2 separate regions of the Homo sapiens genome follow, and region 1 is linked to region 2. Evidence: promoter capture Hi-C in human tissues and cell types (Jung and others, 2019). All regions are on one chromosome and are shown on one strand. The core of a region is centred on a gene start or on the middle of the fragment in contact, and the rest is flanking DNA. Distances in the headings are between cores, read along the strand shown.

The links. Contacts are between HindIII fragments. The study calls those that stand out against the background at their distance.
Region 1: a fragment that was not itself captured here is called in contact with the fragment with the promoter of CRYGA in region 2 in 1 of the 25 tissues and cell types used here (H1 embryonic stem cells).

What each region holds. Positions count from the first base shown.
Region 1 is chr2:208,202,938-208,206,866 of GRCh38, forward strand. No RefSeq gene overlaps it. Among named protein-coding and RNA genes, the nearest start is that of C2orf80, 15 kb to the left of the region's middle. The HindIII fragment of the contact is 3,472 bases long and covers 1-3,367 here.
Region 2 is chr2:208,162,272-208,166,263 of GRCh38, forward strand. It overlaps CRYGA (crystallin gamma A), which reads right to left and starts at 1,318. Exons shown (of 3, transcript NM_014617.4): 1 at 1,277-1,318; 2 at 933-1,175. The coding sequence starts at 1,285. C2orf80 (chromosome 2 open reading frame 80) reads right to left here. Exons shown (of 9, transcript NM_001099334.3): 9 at 3,076-3,544. The coding sequence ends at 3,536. The HindIII fragment of the contact is 14,122 bases long and covers 1-3,992 here.

The DNA of each region.
Region 1 (3,929 bases), core at 382-2,881, 41 kb after region 2:
CTTATTAGGTCCAGATGTGGTGGCTCATGCCTGTAATCCCAGCACTTTGGGAAGCCAAGTGGGTGAATTGCTTGAGCCCAGGAGTTCCAGACCAGCCTGGGCAACTTGGCCACACCCCGTCTCTACAGAATTTAAAAAAAAAAAAAAAAAAAAAAAAAGCTGGCTATAGTGTCACGTGCCTGTAGTCCAAGCTACTTGGGAAGCTGAGGCAGGAGGATCACCTAAGTCCAGGGAGGTCGAGACTGCAGTGAACCATGGTCACGCCACTGCATTCCAGTCTGGGCAACAGAGTAAGACTGCTTCAAAAAAAAAAAAAGTCTCCTTATTAGATACACAAGCTGTTAAAGATATCTTAAGATAGAAACTGTATGTTACAGAACTTGTATGTTTAAAATATTACCTATTAGGCCAGGCGTGGTGGCTCATGCCTGTAATCCCAGCACTTTAGAAGAACAAGGCAGGCAGATCACTTGAGATCAGGAGTTCGAGACCAGCCTGGCCAACATGGAGAAACCCCATCTCTACTAAGAACACAAAAATTACCCAGGCTTGGTGGTACATGCCTGTAATCCCAGCTACTCGGGTGGCTGAGGCATGAGAATCACCTGAACCTGGGGAGGCTGCAGTGAGCCCAGATTGTGCCAATGCACTCCAGCCTGGGTGAAAGAGAAAGACTCTGTCAAAAAAAAAAAAAAAAGAAAGAACAGAAAAGAAAAAAAGGAAAGTTAACTTGTAAAATTAGACTGATTTTATTACTTCTAACTTAAAACTGTGGCTTTTCTCTGTACCAGCTGGTTTGGATGCAGGCGGGATCGCTGTTTGGATAGATGGTCAAGGGATTTGAGTTGGAAACATGGAATCACAGGCTGTAAGAACTAGAAGGGTAATATTGAGTAAAATTTTCTGCCTCAGAGGACAAGAAATATCCCTAAGGCCACAGATAAGCTGAGGCCAGAAGCCAGGCCTCATAATTGAGAGCCCAAGTGACCTTGTTGTTACAAACACACTTTAGAAGGCTTCAAACATGAAACAGAAGCTTCAGGTTGTTCAAAACAGCGCTCCTTTATCCATCTCCCTCCTTGTTGAAATAAATTATAGTTAGCTTTCCCATTTGTCCTAGGATATTTGATACTGTGATAAGCCATGCCTTGTTGATCCTAAAGTGAAGAAGTGAATTGCCTGTGTTAATCACATGAAACCTTGTTTCATTCCATTCCTTAAATTCTCAAAAGCAAACTTGCCTCAAAAAACTGTGTAAACTATACTCAACTAAAGACTCGTCTCACTAACACAGTAGAATGAAAGAAGGCAGTCGCAGAACACACATGATCTGATTCATGTATATAAAGTACAAAAAATGGTAAAACGACTCTAGGCTTTTGGAAGCCAGGGGAACGGTTACTAAATCTTTGTTGCCAGGATGTGGAAGGGGCACATCTGGGGACTTCCTGTGTTCTCTAACATTCTGGGTCTTGATCTGGGGCTAACAAGGGAATGTTCAACTTGTAAAAATTCACCGAGCTGTATACTCATGATATGTGCTGTTTTCTATATATTTATTGTATTTCAATTAAAAATTCTACAAATGGACAGAAGAATTAGTAATTGTCATGGGTCCATCTTAATGTGCCTGGGATGAGCAAAATTTAGAAACAGAGTTATTTATAATCTGTTCTGTTAGATTAGATCCCATCTCTAGAGCCACATCTAGAAGCATGAAGTTGAATTTTACTGAGCTTTTCTGCAAGAATAAAATAGTTCTTTTTAAATTTGGTGCCAGCTCAGAAAAAGTTATCTTTGTATTGCTGTTAGAGAGAGGTAGTTGTTTGTTTGTTTATTTGTTTTTTTAAGATGGAGTCTCACCCTGTCGCCCAGGCTGGAGTGCAATGGTGCGATCTCAGCTCACTGCAACCTCCGCCTCCCAGGTTCAAACGATTCTCCTGCCTCAGCCTCCTAGGTAGCTGGGATTACAGGTGTGCACCGCCATGTCTGGCTAATTTTTATATTTTTAGTAGAGACAGGGTTTCACCATGTTGGCCAGGCTGGTCTCGAACTTCTGATCTTGTGATCCACCCACCTCGGCCTCCCAAAGTGCTGGGATTACAGGCGTGAGCCACTGTGCCTGGCCGAGAGGTAGTTTTAATTGCCCTTGCTGCCTCCAAAATCCTGTGTTTTGTGAGATATGAACATTCATTTCATCAGTTATTCCATGATAATCTGCAAAAAAGGGTTCATACCAGAAGAGATGAAGACAGCAAGGCTGGATTCTCAGAAACAGTGAGTAAAAATAACTTGCAGAATCTCTATGGTGAAATTCCTTTGTGTCCACTCTACTCTGGGCATAATATACCTAATTGGTATATTCTTTTTTTTTTTTTTTGAGACGGAGTTTTGCTCTTGTCACCCAGGCTGGAGTGCAATGGCGTGATCTCAGCTCACTGCAACCTCTGCCTCCCAGGTTCAAGCAATTCTCCTGCCTCAGCCTCCCAAGTAGCTGGGATGACAGGCGCATGCCACCACGCCCAGCTAATTTTTTTATTTTTAGTAGAGACGGGGTTTCACCATGTTGGTCATGCTGGTCCCAATCTCCTCATCTCAAGTGATCCACCAGCCTCGGCCTCCCAAAGTGTTGGAATTACAGGCATGAGCCACCATGCCAGTCCCCTAATTGCTATATTCTTGATGACAAGTATCAGAAAATTATTTGATTTAAGCTCTTTGATTAAAGCTCATTTAATTTAAGCTCATTTTCTTCTTTCAAAAATTGATTATCATTCAAAGTCATCTTCTTGGGAAACATTACTGTTTTTGGGTTGTAATACAAAATAATTACAATTCTTCTTGGTTGGTTGTCACTCCTATTTCATGTGTTCATCCATACGGCCATTTATTCATTTTTACAGACATCTTTCTATACATATTCATGAAGCTTGGAAGGACACATCCCCTGCTGACTTACCTGGCTCATAAATTTGGAAGTACCTTCAGTTTACTCCTCTGTGACAGGATCAGGCCCTATGGGGGAGGTAGGCCTGTGGTATATAGCAATGCAGTGACTTGAGGGGTGAGACAGCCCCAATAAGGGCATTAGCAGGTATTAATAAGGGAGCTTCGCTAGATCCAAGCCATTCCTTCAATATCAGCTTCATCAGTAATTAAATTGACATTTTCTTTGCCTGGTTTCTGTGTCTAGCTCTCAGTGGCTCCAAATTTGAGCAAAAAGAAAAAGTAGATTTTATCTCTTAGCCCCCTACAATCCCAAATTTATATGGATGGTGGAGAGTAGGGCTTATGGAATCCTGTCTTGGCTACTAATGGCTTTGCGACCCGAGTTGTTTAACCTTTTTGTGCGTCAATTTCCCATTTGCAAAAGGAGAATCTTAATAGTATCAGCCTCATGAAACTGTTACAAAAACTACGTGGGTTTATTCATGTGTACAACTTAAAACAGTACGTAGGTTTGCAGCGGCAGGGTCTGGAAAAGGGGTGGCAGGTGCCACATCCAGCCATGAAGGTGGCAAATGGAAGCCCCTGAAACAGCTCAAGAAGCAGGCCAAGGAGATGGACGAGGAAGATGGGGCTCTCTAGCAGACACACAAGGAGGGCAGCAGAAACTGGAGATGCTGAAAGCGAGGCCGTGGCGAAGGGCCTCTGGACGCAGTGGAGTTAGGAATCCTGACACAAAGCAAGCTGCTCCTTGTGCCTGAGGCAAGGGTGGCCCTTGATCCATTCCTAGTTAAACACTTGGATTCCCTGCCATAGCACATTTTGCCACCTATAGCTGGAATGAGGTGTTGTCTTGAAGCTTGTTGTACATTTAGAAATAATCTTTCATAAAAAACAAAAATAAAAAATACTGTGCCTCATTGGATCTTTGTTTTTCCTCAGCCTTAGCTGTGAATTTAAAGTCAGCCCAGCCCAGCATCCTG
Region 2 (3,992 bases), core at 68-2,567:
ATAATTTGGTGCCAACAGAAAGTGTAAATACATGCTGCACGTGATTAAAAAAGATTAAGCAGCATTTTGATGAGGACCATGTTCTATGAAATCCTAATCAATTGTGTGTCTCTGATATTTATAAGAAACTAGTTGATAATGACTCCTGGAAATTATAAATCCACACAAGTTGAAACATATTTTCCTAGGTTCTAGTAAGTCCTAGAATGTAGTGAAAAAAATTTCCAATGCAGTCAGAATACATTATACCTATATTGTTATCTCATAGTCTGTTAACTTTTCATCATTAAAAAATAATTATCATGGCCGGGCGCAGTGGCTCATTCCTATAATCCTAGCACTTTGGGAGGCCGAGGTCGGGAGTTCGAGACCAGCCTGACCAACATGGAGAAACTCTGTCTCTACTAAAAATACAAAATTAGCTGGGCATGGTGGCACATGCCTGTAATCCCAGCTACAAGGGAGGCTGAGGCGGGAGAATCGCTTGAACCTGGGAGGCAGGGGTTGTGGTGAGCTGAGATTGTGCCATTGCACTCCAGCCTAGGCAACAAGAGCGAAAGCGAAGTTCTGTCTCAAAAAAAAAAATTATCTAGATAAACTAGATAGACTTTTCTTTTTTTTCTTTCTTTCTTTTTTTTTTTTTTTACTACTGAATAAGGTGACTTTTATGTAGAAATTAGGGATCACCTAGATGTTACCAAGTTTAATTTAAAGGCTATGTTGTGATTTCCCATGCCCTAAAATGATGTCCTTAAGTAAGAAAAATAGAGATTATTGTTACTTTTTTTTTTTATATATGTTTGAGGGTCAGGCCTTGCTATTCTTACTGTGAACACTCATCCTGTGTTGGAACAAACTGACTTTTATAAACAGGAATTGATGGCCATGGATCATTGATGCTTTCACATCAGTCAAGTTGAAGCAAGACTCACATGAGGAATTATACGGCAGGATTGGACCGAGTCGCTGAGGCCCATCCAGTGCTGATAGTCGGGGTACTTGCCTCGGCGCAGGAAGTACTGGTGGCCCTGGTAATTGGGACGCTCATAGAGCATCCAGCAGCCGCTGTCTACTCGGATGGAGTTGCAGCGGCTGAAGTAGACCCGCAGGTTGGGGCAGTCACTGATGCAATTGTAGCAGCGACCCTGAAAGTCTCGGTCCTCGTAGAAGGTGATCTGAGGTAGAAATAAGGTGACAGTAGACAGTCAGCTGGAAGGAACATCCCCACACACCACAGACCCCCAATAGACATGGCACAGCACCTCCACAGGCTCACCTTCCCCATGGTTGTTGACAGAGGGTGATTAGCATCTAGTATGATAGGGACAAAGGGGCAACTGGTATATATAGCAGGGAAGCTGCTGTGTTGGCAAAAACAACACAAAAGGGACCTGGGGGTGGTGCGTAGGGGGATTTCTGTATTCTCTTTTTTTTTTCATTTGAGATCATGGGGCAGTGGGCTCTCTCTCTTTCTGGCATTTTCGAGTTGTCCTCACTAGCTCCAGTGAAAGGTATTAAAGTCAGCAGAGCCATTATGACCTTGGAGACAAAGGGCACACTTCTCATCCTATGCAGCTCACTAGAAATGCATTACATGCCCAGCATTCTGCAATGTTTGCCTATGGAAACTGCTGAGATGGAGGTTGGTGGTTCCATCTGAGGTCACTTATGAGAACACATGCGTTCCAGAAGGACTTGAAGTGTGAAGAGGCAACAAAAAAAATCCCAGACAGAAAATCCTCTAATTGAAAGACAATTATATTTCTTAAGTGACTTCATCAGTATGATAGGGTTTTGATAAAAATATTTTGCCTATATTTATGTAGGGAAAACATAAGATTAGAAGTGTGTACTATACCAACATATCAATCATGGTAATCAATGAATGGCAAGATTATAGATCTTAGCTTTATGTTGTTATATTTTGTTTTTTGCTGCTGTTTTCTTAATTTTCTATTATATCTGCCATCTTCAGCCAGACAGAAAAAAAAATTCGATTATAAATATAACAATTTCATGAGATGAAAAAATAATAAAATCAATCTTTAAATGTATGACTTTGAGGTGCTGGTGAAAAGCAGTAAATACTGGAAGCAGGTATATTTAATCAAGAGATTAAACACTTCTTGAGCTAAAAATAAAAAGAAACCCTGAGAATCTGTGAGAGGCTCGAAGAGCAGAAAAATACACAGGAACATTTCACTCCCCTCCCCCTGCCACCCTCCTTCTAGCATTGCTTTTATTTTTTAAAATTAGCGTGATGATTTGCCTGTGTTTTTCCTTTCAATAGTATCACTGTTTCATTGAACCCAAGTGACTGCCTAACAGCCTTCTCCATTGCTGCCAACTTATTGATTTAGAAGTACTCCTCAGATGTGCAAGTGTGGAGGAAGACTCCAAACCCCAGACTGTCTTTTGTCATTCCACATGTATGTAGGAAGATGAAATCAAACACCTTTGTGCTTTAGACCCACCGAGGGATTCTAAAAGAGTATTTGACCACAGCTAGCAACACATTCACAATGTCATTTGTGAAAATCCTCAGGCAGCATGTAAGGCAAACGCGCAGGTGGTAAAAGGAGAGACAGCAGTAGCTACCGAGAAAAAAATGTTTCCTCATAACTAGCAGAGCTAGGCAAAAGAAAACTGGGTGAAGTCCTATGAAGCTAAACACCTAGCAGTGCATGCAGGGACCGCAAGTTGCTGATTCCCTCCTTTGCCTCCCCCTAATTAGCTGCAGGCTTACTGGTAAATCTTAGAACCATAATCAAACCCAGTGTGGAAAACGCTGCATTGGTCTCCCAGCCCCACATGAGAATATACCACCATTTTCAGAAAAAGTCTACAATCTCCATCTGTGTTTTTGTACATGCTGATGAAAACTGTTCTGTAGACAGATGGCACACCAAAACCTTAAGAAATGTATTATGTGTACTGACATTCATGTGATCAAGTTGTTATTACATACATTGATAGGCTAAGCCATGTGCCTAATCAGCATTTTGGAAAGGTACTAAAAGACCAGAACATCTTCCCTCCTAGTAGTCATTATAGTCTACTGAGAGAAAGCCTGTATTCATTTTTTTAATGCTTTATTGAAATGATTTAAACATTCTTTTCATATGAGAACACAGTAAAGGCAATCAATGACAGATTAATTTTATTTTGGATTAACTCTTTGGAAATCTGCCTCCCACTCCATCACTGTGCAATATTCAATGCCACACATTTGTAAAATGTGCTACAAAGCCAGCTTGCTCTAACACAGAAATACTATATACTTTCTGAATTCTCCAGCAGTCTTCCAGTCACAATGAAGTAGCATAAGGTCACAGTTTTTTTTTTTAAGAAAATGTAGCCATGCAATATGCTTCTAAAAGAAGAAAGCTCAACATCAAAAATAACACTTCAGTGCAGTTGTACCAAAAACAGTTGTAAAGAAAAATGTACTGGCAAGAGCTGTGGTTTTAAGATGATGCTTCTCGTCTGCTCCCAGAGAATCTATTATGAAGTTCCATGGTACAATTCCAATTTTCTAAGTGACCTGCAGAATAAAAGATGATTTTGGTATCAAGCACATCAATTTAACATGGACACAGACATTACTTTAAGTCTATAGGAAGTTAAGGTCAAATATCAGATACTAACTTACTGACAAAGATAGATTAGATTAATGTAATTACAAAGGAATTTTCATGGAATTATTCTGATATATTTGGAAATTGAGTTATATTTCCCAACTAAATGCAATATGTGATCCCATACTGGATCTTATACAGAAGGAAAAAAATGCTTAAAAAGAACATTATTGGGTCAATTGACAAAATTGGTGTATAGAGAGTACATTAAATAAAAGTACCAATAATAGATATTCTGAAGTTGATAACTATTCTATGGTTATTTAAGAGAATTACTTTGTTCTTAAGAAATACACACAGAGGTACATAGAGTAAAGTGGTAGAGTATATATACATAACTTCTAATGGCTCAGA